Regions from separate parts of the Homo sapiens genome. Here region 2 is linked to region 1. Evidence: promoter capture Hi-C in 16 types of primary human blood cells and fetal thymus (Javierre and others, 2016). All regions are on one chromosome and are shown on one strand. The core of a region is centred on a gene start or on the middle of the fragment in contact, and the rest is flanking DNA. Distances in the headings are between cores, read along the strand shown.

Evidence for each region. The method cuts DNA at HindIII sites, captures the fragments that hold promoters and counts their contacts. A CHiCAGO score of 5 or more calls a contact.
Region 2: a contact is called between the fragment with the promoter of SMC3 here and a fragment that was not itself captured in region 1, in 1 of 17 cell types (naive CD4 T cells). The highest score is 5.0, in naive CD4 T cells.

Annotation. Positions count from the first base shown.
Region 1 is chr10:114,520,046-114,527,136 of GRCh38, forward strand. All of the region lies in intron 6 of ABLIM1 (actin binding LIM protein 1), which reads right to left. Among named protein-coding and RNA genes, the nearest start is that of AFAP1L2, 120 kb to the left of the region's middle. RefSeq lists enhancers at 6,584-6,703, 6,874-7,091. The HindIII fragment of the contact is 2,440 bases long and covers 4,622-7,061 here.
Region 2 is chr10:110,564,817-110,571,694 of GRCh38, forward strand. SMC3 (structural maintenance of chromosomes 3) reads left to right here and starts at 2,879. Exons shown (of 29, transcript NM_005445.4): 1 at 2,879-3,015; 2 at 4,122-4,197. The coding sequence starts at 3,001. LOC105378483 (a long non-coding RNA gene) reads right to left here and starts at 2,492. Exons shown (of 2, transcript XR_946318.2): 1 at 2,217-2,492; 2 at 1-197. RefSeq lists enhancers at 1,182-1,884, 2,699-2,748, 2,759-2,858 and a silencer at 3,199-3,488. The HindIII fragment of the contact is 2,181 bases long and covers 2,682-4,862 here.

The DNA of each region.
Region 1 (7,091 bases), core at 4,592-7,091:
CTAGAGGCCAGCACAGGCTTCAGGCTCATGCCTGAAGACTCCCACTGCAGAGGGTACACCCTCAGCTGCTGAAGCCTCTGGGCAGGGCCATAGTAAACAGTCTCCACCTCAACTCTCTATAGACAGAAGTCTTAATCATTTTAGAATTGGCTCCATGGAGTCACAGCTCCAAGCCAGCTTACAGCATTACATTTATATGTCGACAAGGGCTTCTGATCTTGGCCTTCTGTTCTGCAGTGGAACATCCTGGGGCCAATCAACCTCACAAACACCGGTGTCAAGGCAGGTGATGAACAGCACTTGGTTATATTAAAAATGTAGAAGAACTCTGTCAGGTTTAAAATTCTTAGGCATTTTCCTAGTCTTTTCTGCTTGAAATTGCTACCTACAGTTGTCATGGTGGTTTCCTTGGTGTAAGTTTCATATTCTAGGGGAAATCAGTGCCATCGTGGGAGCTAAAAAAAGGAGAACTCATTCCCAGGGCTGCCAATTGTAACCCTGGATTAAAGTGCCATGTGACTCAGCAGCTGCTTAACTTTTGACTAATAGATTTGTTTACATAAGAAGAATGAGAGGGTTTAAGCAATCAATGACGTCCTATCGGTTAAAAAAAGAAAAAAAAGAAAGAAAGAAAAATGACGTAGGCTGGGTGTGGTGCTTCATGCCTGTAATCCCAGCACTTCAGGAGGCCAAGGCAGGAGGACCACTTGAGGCCAGGAGTTAAGAGAGCAGCCTGGGCAACATAGTGAGACCCTGTCTCTAAAAAATAATAATAAAAAAAAATTAGCTGGGCATGATGGCATGCACCTGTAGTCCCGGGACTCAGGAGACTGAGGCAGGGAATCTCTGGAGCCCAGGAGTTTGAGGCTGCAGTAAGTTATGACTGTGCCACTGTGCTCCAGTCTGGACAACAGAGTGAGACCCTGTTTCTAAAAAAACAATAAAAATAAGTGACTTAAGATACAGCAGCTAGTTATCCTTAGAGATGTCACTGGATTATGAACTGATAGGCTCATGTTTATGTTTATAAATAGTATAAATAATATGTATAAGCTCAAATAATAGGGATGAGAAGGGAGGAGGTGAGGTCTTAGGTTTCATTCATTTGGCAAAAGCCTGTGATGAACCTGTGGGTCAGGCACTGGACACCTGATGAGGAGGAAAGAAAGGCTGTATAATCTGCGCTACCAAGAAGAAATCTGTATTCAATTCCTGGCCCTGCAGTAATCATCTGTACGCCTTTCGGCAACTGCTCTGGGCCTCAGTTTACTTACTTGCAAAACAAAGATGAGAGTCATACTCAAGCCATAGAGTTGATGAAAGGACTTTGATGAAGTATGCTTATAAAGTGCTAAGGCAATAAGAACAAACAATAATTACAACCATAACCACCTTTATTACACATTCCTGTCCTCAAGAGCTTAGTATGCAGAGCTTAGCAAACAGGTGACTGTAACTGGATAAGATGGTTAGTGTAATGTACAAAGTGAGGTGGGTGTGGGGAGAAAATTCTCCAAGGCTACTGTCTTGGGGAGTCAAAGAGGAATCACAGGAGAGAAGCTCTTAGACTTAAAAGAGAGTAGAAATTTACTCGGTAGTCAACCCCCCTCCTTTCCCCGCTCCTTCTTTCCTTCCTTCCCTCTCCTTTTCCCTCCCATTCATCCATCCTTCTATCCATCCACTCATCCTCTTATTGGGCACCAACCTTCTATCAGATGATGTTTTAGTTTCGGGGATATGATAGTACCTGTCATAAGCATACATTCTTGCAATGAGTGACAGATACTAGACATGGATACAAGCAGATAAGAATTCCAGATAGTCGGGGAACAGTGCCATGAAGAACCTAAAACAGAACCAGGGGAGAGAAGATGGCCTAGGGGTTGGGCAGGTGGAAGCAACTTTAGCTAGGTGATTAGAGGATACCTCTCCAAGTCAAAAGAGGCAGGTTGAATAATGAGAAGGAAGCCAAGATCTGGAGGAAGAATGTGCCAGGCTCAGGGAGCAGTGAAAGCCCAGAGATGGACAGTGTCTGTGCTTGAGGGGCAGAAAGAAGGCTAGCAGGGCTGGAATGAAAGAGGAGGGAAGATGTAGGTAATCAGAAACTTAATCTCAGAGGGCTGCATAAGCCAGGAGAAGATATTTCAACAGATTTTCAAAATTCCAAGGTTTAAAGGCAAAACAAAAACCCAGTCGAACACATGTTTTCCTCATGCTTTAGAACTCTTTTCAAACCACAAAGGAAACCTGGCAATCCACCCCACCCCCCACTTATTCCCTAAACTTCGTTATATAAGGGCCAACATCTTCTTTCATCTGTTGCCAGACCAGATACATTTGGCATCCTAAACAAGTTGCCAAAACAAAGCAGAAAGCTCAGCTTAAACTCTGTTAGAGGATGTTCTAAACTTCACAAAACACAATTCTCTATGTTTTCAAGTATGTTTATTTGGACAAGGTATACGGATATGAGCACAGACATAAGGAACCAGCTGCACAGAACCAAGACAATCTAGTAAAAAATTACTATTCAGCAGTAAGGAAAGATAAAAGCAGTCTTAAGTGTAAACAAGTATTTTTGCTTCATCTAGTGTTTATGAGCAACAAATGGCCTCAGTGTGAACCAGCAATGCTGAGAAGGACACAAACACGTATTTGCTAAAAACATTCCAGGCTTGGCGAATAATAAAGCAGCAGGGTTTGTTTCCTCTTTGATGAAGGTCCCCTCCCGTCAAAGGCTGCACCTTAAGCCTCTGCAGCTTAAGGTACAAGAAAGGCTCACGCTTGCTCATTCCCAGGGCTCTGCTTAGAAGCATGTAGCTAGGCCAGGTGCGGTGGCTCACGCCTGTAATCCCAGCACTTTGGGAGGCTGAAGCGGGTGGATCACTTGAGGTCAGGAGTTGAAGACCAGCCTAGCCAACATGGTGAAACCCCATCTCTACTAAAAACACAAAAAATTAGCCGGGCATGGTGGCACACACCTGTAATCCCAGTTACTCGGAGGGTGAGGCAGGAGAATCGCTTGAACCCAGGAGGTGGAGGTTGCAGTGAGCCAAGATTGCACCACTGCACTCCAGCCTGGGTGACAGAGCAAGACTCCATCTCAAAAAACAAAACAAAACAAAAAAATCCATGGAGCTGGGGTTGGTTTGTGAACCAAAGCAAGAGATTGAGAGGATCTTTGGCTTCTCTGTCTCTCACTACGGCATCTTTACATTCTGCACAGTCTGGAAACTTCCAATTTCAAGACATCTGCCCCATCTGCACCCCCCTTGCCCTGATAACCTGGTTCAGAGAACCAGGTAGGTTCTCTGGGCAGCACCACCTGACTCCCCACAGGACACATAGATCAACAAGGGCCGTTTTTTCACCTCTGATCATAAGCTCTTTCAACTGGCGAGTTTTCTTAAAGAGGTGGTAAATACCTTGCCTTTGGGTCAGACCCTATGGTTAGTGTGCTCTTTATCTTATTGAAACCATGAAGAAGCATTAACCTGTGGGGTTTATAATAAGAGCAGAAATTTAATTTCTGGGCCTTATGAAGGCCCAAATTCTACAACCCACAGACCCACTCTTCCTGCATCCTTCAAAGAGTTTTCTGGTAGCCCCTCAGACATTAAAACCTGCTTAGATGGTGACTGGATTTGTCCTCTTTAAAAAATTACAGAAATATGGACACAGGCTGCAGACATGTGGCTTGCTGACCAAGCTCCTGGGTGGTCTTTCCATAGAAATCATTGACATTCATTTGTCTGTTCATCAATGACTGAGCAAATAGTATGAGCAGGCACTGTGCTATATCCTGGGGGCAAATAGACCTAAAATGCTCACATTTGCTGCACTCAGGGATCTTTGGTCTACTGAATGGGGGGAGAGGGTGAATTTTAATTACGAAGAACTGTTACTTAGAGAGCACATGGTGTGTGTCACATTGGTACCTCCAGGTGGAGAGAAATGCAAGATTTGCTTTGCAATCAAAAGCAGAAACCACAGCTCTCTGATAACATTATGGGCCAGTCCAGGTCTGTCACCAAGAATAGACTTCAATAAGTCAAGGTGTTTCCCTATCTGTTCAGCCAATGCTAAGCACCACTAAGCACTATGCAGTGGTACATCTCATCTGGTTTGGGTGGTGGTGGTAGCTCCTGGAAGTCACGGTGCTCAGTGCAATGTACTATATTCTTGGAGAAACACCAAGAAAAAGCAGCACTCGCAGCTTCATGCATTTTGTAATCTGTAAACCTTTGAGAGCAAACAAGCAGTAGCATTAATGCTAAAGGTGTAAGAAAAATTTTAAACGGAAAAAATCCCAGCCATTGACTTCATCGTTATCTGTAAATTGGAAAAAAGCTGTGATTCTTCAATTGCACTCACAAAACAAGGCCCAATTCCTAAAAAAATCAAAACAGTTTGAGACCCACTGGTACAGATGGCGAAAAGAAAAAAGAAATGAAAGCATTCACTTGCAGATTCTAGAAGAAAAAAAAACTAACAGGCATGGCCAGATTTACTAAAAACCCACATTACAAACAAACAAACAACAACAACAACAAAAAACTCTATATTTACAGAAGGGAAAAGTATGGGTAACTATTTGCTTTATAAAATGGATCACTGTATAAGCTTCTTTTTAAAAAAAGACAAAATAGTATATCCCCAGAATGCACTTTAGAATTCAATTGAAAGAAGTTTGACTACTATACCAATCATAGCACTGTATAAAATAAGTCCCACAAGGGCACAGAAGGAAAAGGGGGCAGAAGAATGTATATCCGCAGCAAGTCCTTGAATCTGATACCCCATTCCCAAGATGTGATTTCAGACAAAACCCAAACAAAATAAAAACCAAATGGTCAGGCAAAAACACCTGTCCTGCCACTGTTCCTTGGACCCCGCCAGGCCTCCCTGGGACTCCAGCCTCCTCTCATAGACCCTTCCCCCTCGTTGGCAGCAGTAGGCCCCAAGACAGGTTTCCCTCTAGCAGTGATTCCCAACCAGGGGCATTTTGCCCACAGGGAATATTTAACAGTGTCTGAAGATATCTCTGGTTCTCACAGCTGGGGAGGGAGTGCTACTGTCGCCTGGTGTGTAGAGATCAAGGATGCTACTAGACATCCCATAGACAGTCCCCTGCAACAAACTATAATCCCATCCAAAATGTCAATAATGCTGAGGTTGAGAAACCCTGTTCTACAGGAGCCAAAATCATGACCATCCCTCCAGAAAGTCAGGTTACAAGAACTGAGTAGTTCACTTTCTGTCCTTTTAGGTGAGCTATTGTTTAGTTGAAGAGAAAAATCTGCAGGCTTCTGTTGTCAGGATATAATATTCCCTGAGCTTACTGGATAAGCCACTGATGCGAGGATTAGACTCACTGACACATGAAAATGCTTAGGCAACCGCCTCGAAAACATTGGTCAAAACATTCTAAGTGTTATAAGGGATGCTTGGCAAGGCCTCACGCTTAGTCTTAAAAAGCCTTCTCAAAAGTAATTTATACCAATGAGCCGTGGCAAATTCACCTATTCTATAAGTACGCAGTGACTCAACAAGCCTTTTGATCCATTTATAGAATGGCAACAATTATATTTTAATGAGTTATTTTCACTTACTTGTCAGAACCTGTTTTGGTAATCTAAATAACTTCACATCCTCTTAACATTCCTTATGAGGCTGTCTGAGAGAAAAACAGGCTCAGTTTTCTTTTAAGTCTCCAATCTCAGCTAAGTGACAAATGAAGCTGCTATAGCGACCACACTCCTGCTGGCTTATGGCCAAACTCACGTTTTCTTTTTTTCTTTTCCAACATCATAAATCTATTTTTTTCACAGATGAAATAACTTTCTGGTCCCATTTCTTCTTTCATGCTAGTATAGCACATTTTAAAACACTTTCCCCCCAAAAAAAGTCTTTACAGTATGATTCGATTAATAACTGGGTTTTTAGGAAAACTATTTTCAATATAAAGGCCAGAATCTCTAGATTTCTTTTACTGCATATCAAAGGTGGAAAGAGAGGCAATTGTCAAGCTCTTTCAACCTAGAGCCGCAATAAAACATGAATAACATCTAAACATTTTGTTTCCTTATTTTCATTTATTGGGTATTTCTTAAAGAAAAAAAAATCTCATAATTTACAGTAATAGCTAAATCTACTCATTCCCACGTGCCACTTCCACCACCAAATCCCCCAAACAGGACTCAAATGTAAATTTCACAGAGCTCTACAAACCACAGACAAAACAAAACAACCCCAAAGTCTGAAAACCACAGTCTCCTTTCAATCTTGCGGGTAGCAGCCTAAAAAAACATAAGCCTTGTTTAAAAGGTCAACGCACTACACTTCTCAGTGAAATAAATAACCAGCCTTTCCTGCCCTTCAGTCTAGTTCTGTATCGATGAACAAAAGCTCCTGTCGTTTCTTTTGTATCATCAGGAAAACAAAAAGTTTACATAAATGTATGTCAGGGCAATAAAAGTGACTTCTGTCGCCAGCATCCAGCCACCACATTTGGAGGATCCGAGCGGCCTCCGACCTCACGAAGGAAGCCAGAAATCTCACATCTGCCACGCAAAGCAAAGGACATAGGTCACCTTGTGCAATGTCCGCTTTACCTCAGGCCAGGGTTCCTTTTCTTCTAATTCTGTTCCTTGGCTGTGCTGAGCAGAGAACTCCTCCAGGCTTCAAGTTCAGAACACGGCCAAGAGGCTTTGTAGATGCCAGACCTCAGCCCGACAGACTGAGGCTCCCACCTGCCTGGGTTACATATCAGGCTTCTCTCCGAAGCTCGGCTAAGGCAACGTGCATCCCTCTAGAGACGCACTCCGGAAACCAGCCCCGTGTGCGGCGGGCAGGCACGCTCTCTCACGCCTCCTCTCCTCGCTTTACTTACTAGTTCAACACACCAGCAACCACAATGGGCCAGTCCATGTTCCCAAAAAAGGAGGGGGAGTAGATTTACTTTCTTTCTTTTTTTAAATGCAGGTAGGAAAGTACCATTTCTTTGCATTCACTCACTATTGTCTGCATGTGAAACCGACAGTGATTGTCCCTGAGGCATAAGCTTGTACTGAAACGAGATTCTTAGGCTT
Region 2 (6,878 bases), core at 1,629-4,128, 4.0 Mb before region 1:
CTGCAAACTCAAGAATTTGTTAGTCACAGACTTCTTTAACTCTTTGGGGCACTGTTTCAAGGCTGCAGTTCTCCGTTGTTTAGCTATGAGCTAGTAGGCACTGTGCGGCTGGCATTCTGCTTTATGGTGGCAATTTCTTTCAGGAATGTCCCTTTGCTTCCAGATAGTTCATAGGTTTGAATAACTATTTATCCTGGCTAAAGGAGATCAATATGTTCGACTCCTACGTACTTACCAGAAGAGAATGATGCTCCTAAGGGGGATGAAAGGTGGGTGGAATGGGGACATAGGGAGCTTTTAAACACCAGTAGCTGGCATATGTAAGCCCTGCACGGTGGTAAGTACTTTGCTTCTGTGCATTTTTCACTCATAAATATATACTGAGTACTTTCTGTGAATTAGTTACTAAGTAACAGCAGGAACAAAATGAAGTCCCTTCTCTCTTGGATTTATATTCGTGCAGAGATAGACAATAAATACATAAATATAAATAAAAGCATTACATTCTCAAAATCACCTTTTGATTATTTTAGGTTTTTCGCTGATCTTTTTTTCTGCCTATATAAATTATATAAGCTAATTGTATAAGCTTCATTTAATATGGAAAAGCCTAAGGAAGAAAGTAAAACTCCCATCACTGTGAAAGCCATTCAAATGTTTTAGTCACCATCTTTTCATATTTTGCCTACATATGTATAAACAATTTTAGGTAGATAGGATTATCTTATACATCCTGTTTGTAATTCTAAATATGATGGAGTTTTATCATCTTCATTTTATAGACTAGGAAGTGGAGGCTTAGAATTTTTTTTTTTGAGACAGAGTCTCGCTCCATCACCCAGGCTGGAGTGCAGTGTCAGTCTCGGCTCACTGCAACCTCTGCCTCCTGGGTTCAAGTGATTCTCCTGCCTCAGCTTCCTGAGTAGCTGAGATTACAGGCGTCTGCACCACGCCCAGCTAATTTTTGTATTTTTAGTAGAGACGGAGTTTTGCCATGCTGAGCCTCCACTTCCTAGTCTATAAAATGAAGATGATAAAACTCCATCATATTTAGAATTACAAACAGGATGTATAAGATAATCCTATCTGCCACGTTGGCCAGACTGTTCTGAAACTCCTGACCTCAAGTGATCCACCCACCTGGGCCTCCCAAAGTGCTGGGATTACAGGCGTGAACCACCATACCTGTCCTAAGCTTTAAATAATACAACTAAAATCTAGAAGTAAAATGTTTAGATTGAGTGCAGTGGCTCATTCCTGTAATCCCAGCATTTAGGGAGGCAGAGGTGGGAGGATCGCTTGAGGCCAGAAGTTAGAGACCAGCCTGGGCAACATAAGGAGACCTGGTCTCTACAAAAACAAAAAAAAGCTGGGCTTGGTGGCCACAGCCTGTAGGCTGAGGTGGGAGGATGGCTTGAACCCAGGAGTTTGAGGCTGCAGTGAACCATGACCGAGCCACTATGCTCCAGCTCCACCCTGGGTGACAGAGCAAGATCCTGTCAAAAAAAAAAAAAAAAGTTAGAAATAAAGAAAAGAAAATGCTTACATATTTATTTAATTTATTTTGAGACAGTCTCGCTCTGTTGCCCAGGCTGGAGTGCAGTGGCGCGATCTTGGCTCACTGCAACCTCTGCCTCCTGGATTCAAGCAATTCTCCTGCCCCAGCCTCCCGACTAACTGGGATTACAGGCACCCGCCACGACGCCCAGCTAATTTTTGTATTTCGAGTAGAGACGGGGGTTTCGCCATGCTGGCCAGGCTGGTCTTGAACTCGTGACCTCAGGTGATCCTCCCCCCTCAGCCTCCCAAAGTGCTGGGATTACACGCTTGAGCCACTCGACCAGGCCTATTTATTTTTTTAAACCAAGGGCTGGATAGGATTTGATCCGGGCTCCAGATAAAGGACTCCTAGGGAGATACCCTGGTTAGCAGAGGCAGTTAGGAGGCTACTAAAAATAGTTCAATCTAGAAATAATTAGGGCCAGAATTGTCTCCAGCAGCGGGCGGGGGTGGGGCTGGGGATGATTTGGGTAGTTATTTTGTTCTCTTCCCAGCAAGTAATTTCAGAGCAGCCCAGAGATTCATTTTCTAAACAAATGATGTTTTTCTCCCAAGACTGACAAGGATCAGACAGACCTAGGGTTGCCACTAGCACCTAGTATCTTTCAGGCTGTTTTCTTTTGTTTTTAAAGTGGATTAAAAGCTTTCAGCCTTACCTAAATCTTTGTTGCAATTGTACAGATCTGCCTAGATTTATAGCAGATGGTAGAACAGAAACAGTTCCCGACGGAATTAATCATCACATTATTAAAACAAATTTTCGAGCATTGACAAATCCCTTCGGGGTTGTCCTCCGAGTGGGCAATTCGTAACCAGCTTGGGGCGTGCTAAGATTGTAAACGTTCCTATGGAGAGCGATAACAAAGGGGCAGCAGTGACTCCGCACACAGAATTCCAAGAATCACCAGCATTCCATGTGTTCCAAGGCTAGCACAGTGCGCGCGAGGTCCGCTTTTTTAAACAGCGCGGAATCACGTGGCCGACAGCCCGCGGCGCTACTGGCCCTCGGAGTCTCCCTCTTGGCTTTGGCGCGGAACCTTTCCCCCTTTGTGGACGCGACCATTGGCCCCGCGCTCGGAGGTGGTACGGACCAACCCTACGGTCATAGATTTTCCGAGTGAAGCTTTTGACTAAGTCTCAGGAAAGCGTTAGCTACAGAATTCTAGATTCAAAAGAAATCCACCAAAAAACGCTGTGGAGGACTGGTTTTGCCTAAAAGAAAGAGCAGACCTGAACTTGACTCCTCCTACGCCCTGTGAAGGCTGCAAGGTGGTTCCGTCCGAGGCGCGGACTCCGCCCCCACGAGCGCCGCCATTTTGTTTGGCTGAGGGGAGCGAGCGGCGCTTTGGGGGAGGGGTCGCGTAGGCGCCTCACCTGACCCTGCGGCCGTGCGGTTGCTGCTCCGGGGCAGGTCTCCTTCCAGGCCAGGGGCCCGGAATCATGTACATAAAGCAGGTAAGGCCTTCGCGTCCCTCCACCCCGTCATGGGCCGGTAAGGGCCGCTCCTTGAGGCGGGAGTGTTGCGGCGCCACCCGCAGCCTCTCCCCTGTCTCCACAGGCTGGACCAGGGCTGGGCGGGGACTGTGGGGGAGGAGGGAGACCCGGGTCCCGCTAGTGCCCCGGCTGCGGGGTCGCGGAGAATTGGGGCACTCCTTTGCAGCCCCGGCCTCCCTGCTGGCGCTTGTCTGGGAGAGGCAGGATCTCCGAGAGGTGTGGAAGGGCCGGCGGGCGGGCCGCTGGGAGGGACTGGGCCTTCCTGGGTGGCCCCAGAGCTGGCGGGGGGCACCCCGCCGGGGCGGCCGCGGGCGGGAAGGGCTGTGTGGTCCTGCAGGGGTGGCCTCACACGGCCCATGTGCCTGGGATGTGTGGAAAGGTGGCTTCCCCGGCCCGGGGGCGGCCCTGGGGGCATTGGCTGGGGTGTCGTCACCTGTCACTGCGGGGAGCCGTTCTTCTCCCCAGTTAACCCGCGAAGTGAGCGGGACCCTCCTGCTTGCAGGATACGGAGCGCCGCCTCCCTCGGTTGTTTACTTCTGTCAAAATGGTCTTCCCGCGCGGGACTCCACCACAAAGATGAGCCCAGGCACACGGCCTTGGAGACGGTTTTCTGTTGGGTCTGTCGGGCTCTGAGCACTCCTTCTTTGGAACGTGGGTTCTTTCAGGCTGGCCGGCGTGAGTGACTGAAAGCAGCACTCGGTGGTCTTGGAGTCAGGAGAGCTGGGGCCCGTCGGCCTGCTTTTATAGACTTGCTATTGTACTGCAGCGTTTAGGGTTCAGTTAAGCTCACACAGTGTTTTTGATTTTGAAAGGTCCTTAACAGGTTGACAGCATAACTCCTAAAAAAAAATAAAACCCAGCAGCATTGCCTTGGCAAAGATTACCGATAAAAGTACCTTTTTTTTTTTTTAGCAGATTTTTAATCACCACTTTCCAAAATGAATTTTTCTTATATGAAATTTCGAGTTTTCTATATTGCATTAAATGAAAAACAAGAAAGAAATGCAAGAGAAAAATGTTAATTTTTTTTGTGGGGTGGGTTCTCAAAAATGTTTTTTATTTACTAGGTGATTATCCAGGGTTTTCGAAGTTACAGAGATCAAACAATTGTAGATCCCTTCAGTTCAAAACATAATGTGATTGGTAAGTGTTCTTGGTTTACTCGGTCATATTTATAGTCTATACAGATAATGTAAATTCTGTCCATTTCTATATTGGCTTAAGGAGACAGGAATTGTCTTTGAATATTAAGTTATATTTTTCTGCGTGAAATAACTTTTCTGTCTTATTGCACTGATGAATTGCTTATTTTTATAAACTTAAAATGTTTGGATAAGACACTCATAAGTTATCCATTTTTTATCTAGGTAGCCTTGTATGTGTGTGTAAGAGTGTTTTAAAGCATTTCCGCTCTTCTGTTCTTGTTATATATCCTAGTGAAAATGCTGACTGTTGCCTTATTTCAGAGACAGACAATTTTTATTCACAAAGTAGATGCCAGGATTCCCCCCCCACCCCGGCAGTCAGTGTCTCTAAGGACAGACCATGTAGCTAGATTGGAAGAGCATAAACTTTGGAGCATAACAGAATGGGGTTCAAATCCCAGTTATAGGGGGGTGGGGGCCTGGGGGAGGGATAGCATTAGGAGAAATACCTAATGTAAATGTCGAGTTGATGGGTGCAGCAAACCAACATGGCACATGTATACCTATGTAACAAACCTGCATGTTGTGCACATGTATCCTAGTATAACAACAACGAAAAAAAAAATCCCAGTTGTGGCACACGTTCTTTTTCACTTTCTGAGAAGCTTCAGTTTTCTCATTTGTAAAGTGGAGATGATACCTGTCTCATAGGGCTGTTGAGAAGATTAAATGAGAAACCTTATGTAAGTGTGAAGATAAAGAGCTAATGGTGATTGCCATTAACAATATGTAGTCATTATAGATTGCTCAGATTGTAGTGTGCATTTTGCTGATACAGCTAACAAAAATGTTTTCTGACACTCTGCTGAGTATTTTACAGGATAGATGAAAGGAGTGCTTCTGGACACCAGAAACACAGACTGCTGTTGACACAGTTTTGCTGTACAGAGTCCAAACTAAGTGGTGTATTAGTTTGCTAAGGCAGCCATAACAAAATACCATAGACTGGTGGCTTAAACAAGATATTTTTTTTCTCATAGTCTGGAGGTCAGACATCCATGATCAGGATACCTGCATGGTTAGGTTCTCGTGAGGCTCTCTTCCTGGCTTATGGACAGCTGCTGTCTTGCTGTGTGCTCACATGGCCCCATCCTCATGTCCTCATTTAACCATAATCATCTTCCAGGGGTCCCCATGTCCAAATACTATCACATTCGGGATTAAGGTGTCAGTTGTTTCAGGGTGTCAGTTCAATTCAGTCTGTGGTGCGTGGGTGAGATTCACATTACTAATGTTTCCAGAAGACCTTTAGAGAATCATACTTCATTTTGTATAAAATGATAAAATTGAAGGCAGGTTTTTTTGCCCTCGATTTATCAATAGCAGCCTTGTAGTTGGGAATAAAGAAGGCATACTTTTTTTTTCCCTGCTTGTGCTCTGTCTACTGAAGTCATTTAATTGAATTGACATGCCATAGGGTGGCTTAATTGTACTGGGGTTTTGCTTACATATAAGTACTTTCTGATTTTTTTCATCAATCAGAAAATCTTTAGAAATGTAGAAAAATAAGAATTATTAGATTTCTGTTTTCTTTAACTTGCACCTTAAAATAAGTACCTTAATATTTCATTTGTGTGATTTTATAAATGATCTGTAACTTACTAGCTAGAATGATTACATTTTGTCTATAAGGTCCATCAAATACCATTGTTTTAGCTGTTATCAGTTAGTTGTGTTACCTCTGTGATTGCAGCATTAGATTTGTTAATAGTCACTGTTACAAAGGAAAATGGTTTTGTTTAACTAAAACAAATGAACCCAAGATAACAGTACTGATTAAACATATTTTAAAACCAGACACGTTGTAAGACATAATGTAAGAAAGACCAAAAGTAGTTAGGTACTGAGATTTGCCTTAAAAATATCTGGTGAAAGCATACCACTTTGATTGATGAATGATGTTGACTATTAAAAAATATCTCTTGTACTGATGTTGGGTATATGCATCAAACATATACGTTTTTAGGGATTTTTTTCCCCCTAACCTTTAACAAAAGAAATACATGTTATAGAACATTATGGAAAAGCTAAAAGGAAGAAAATTAAGATAAACTATAATCCTTTTACTCAGAGATAACCATTCTTTGTTTTTTACTGCACACCATGATTCTTCAGAGATAACCATTCTTAATAATAACAGTCTATACTTGTGATTAGTCCTGGTTTCCTAGAAAACAGCACAGACAGGATTAGCTGCTAAGGCTTTGATGGGAGGTGCAGTTTGAGGGCAAGAATGAAGAGAAAAGCTGGTCATAGATTTCTAAAGAAGAGACAGGTGGTTTGCAGTCATGTTAAATAACTCACAGACTTTGTGGACCCACCATACCTTAGAAAGGTCAGATGATAGAGGAATGGATTTGGATTCTGACAAGGATTTGTTTGCAGGCACCTGTCTTTCATTGGTCAAAGTTTTCTACATCTGGCATTGATGCCTCCAAGCTTTTGGATTGTGGTGCTCTGGGAACTAACACCCGGAAGTAGTCAGGGAGTTATAGCCTCCTTTCCATGTTCACAATTCAGGAGTACCTGAATGTACTCCCAAGGTAGCTTGAATCTACCAGAGGTATTAGGAGACTGAGCTTTTCCATTGATTGGCAGCCAAGGCCTGGGTTGAGAAAG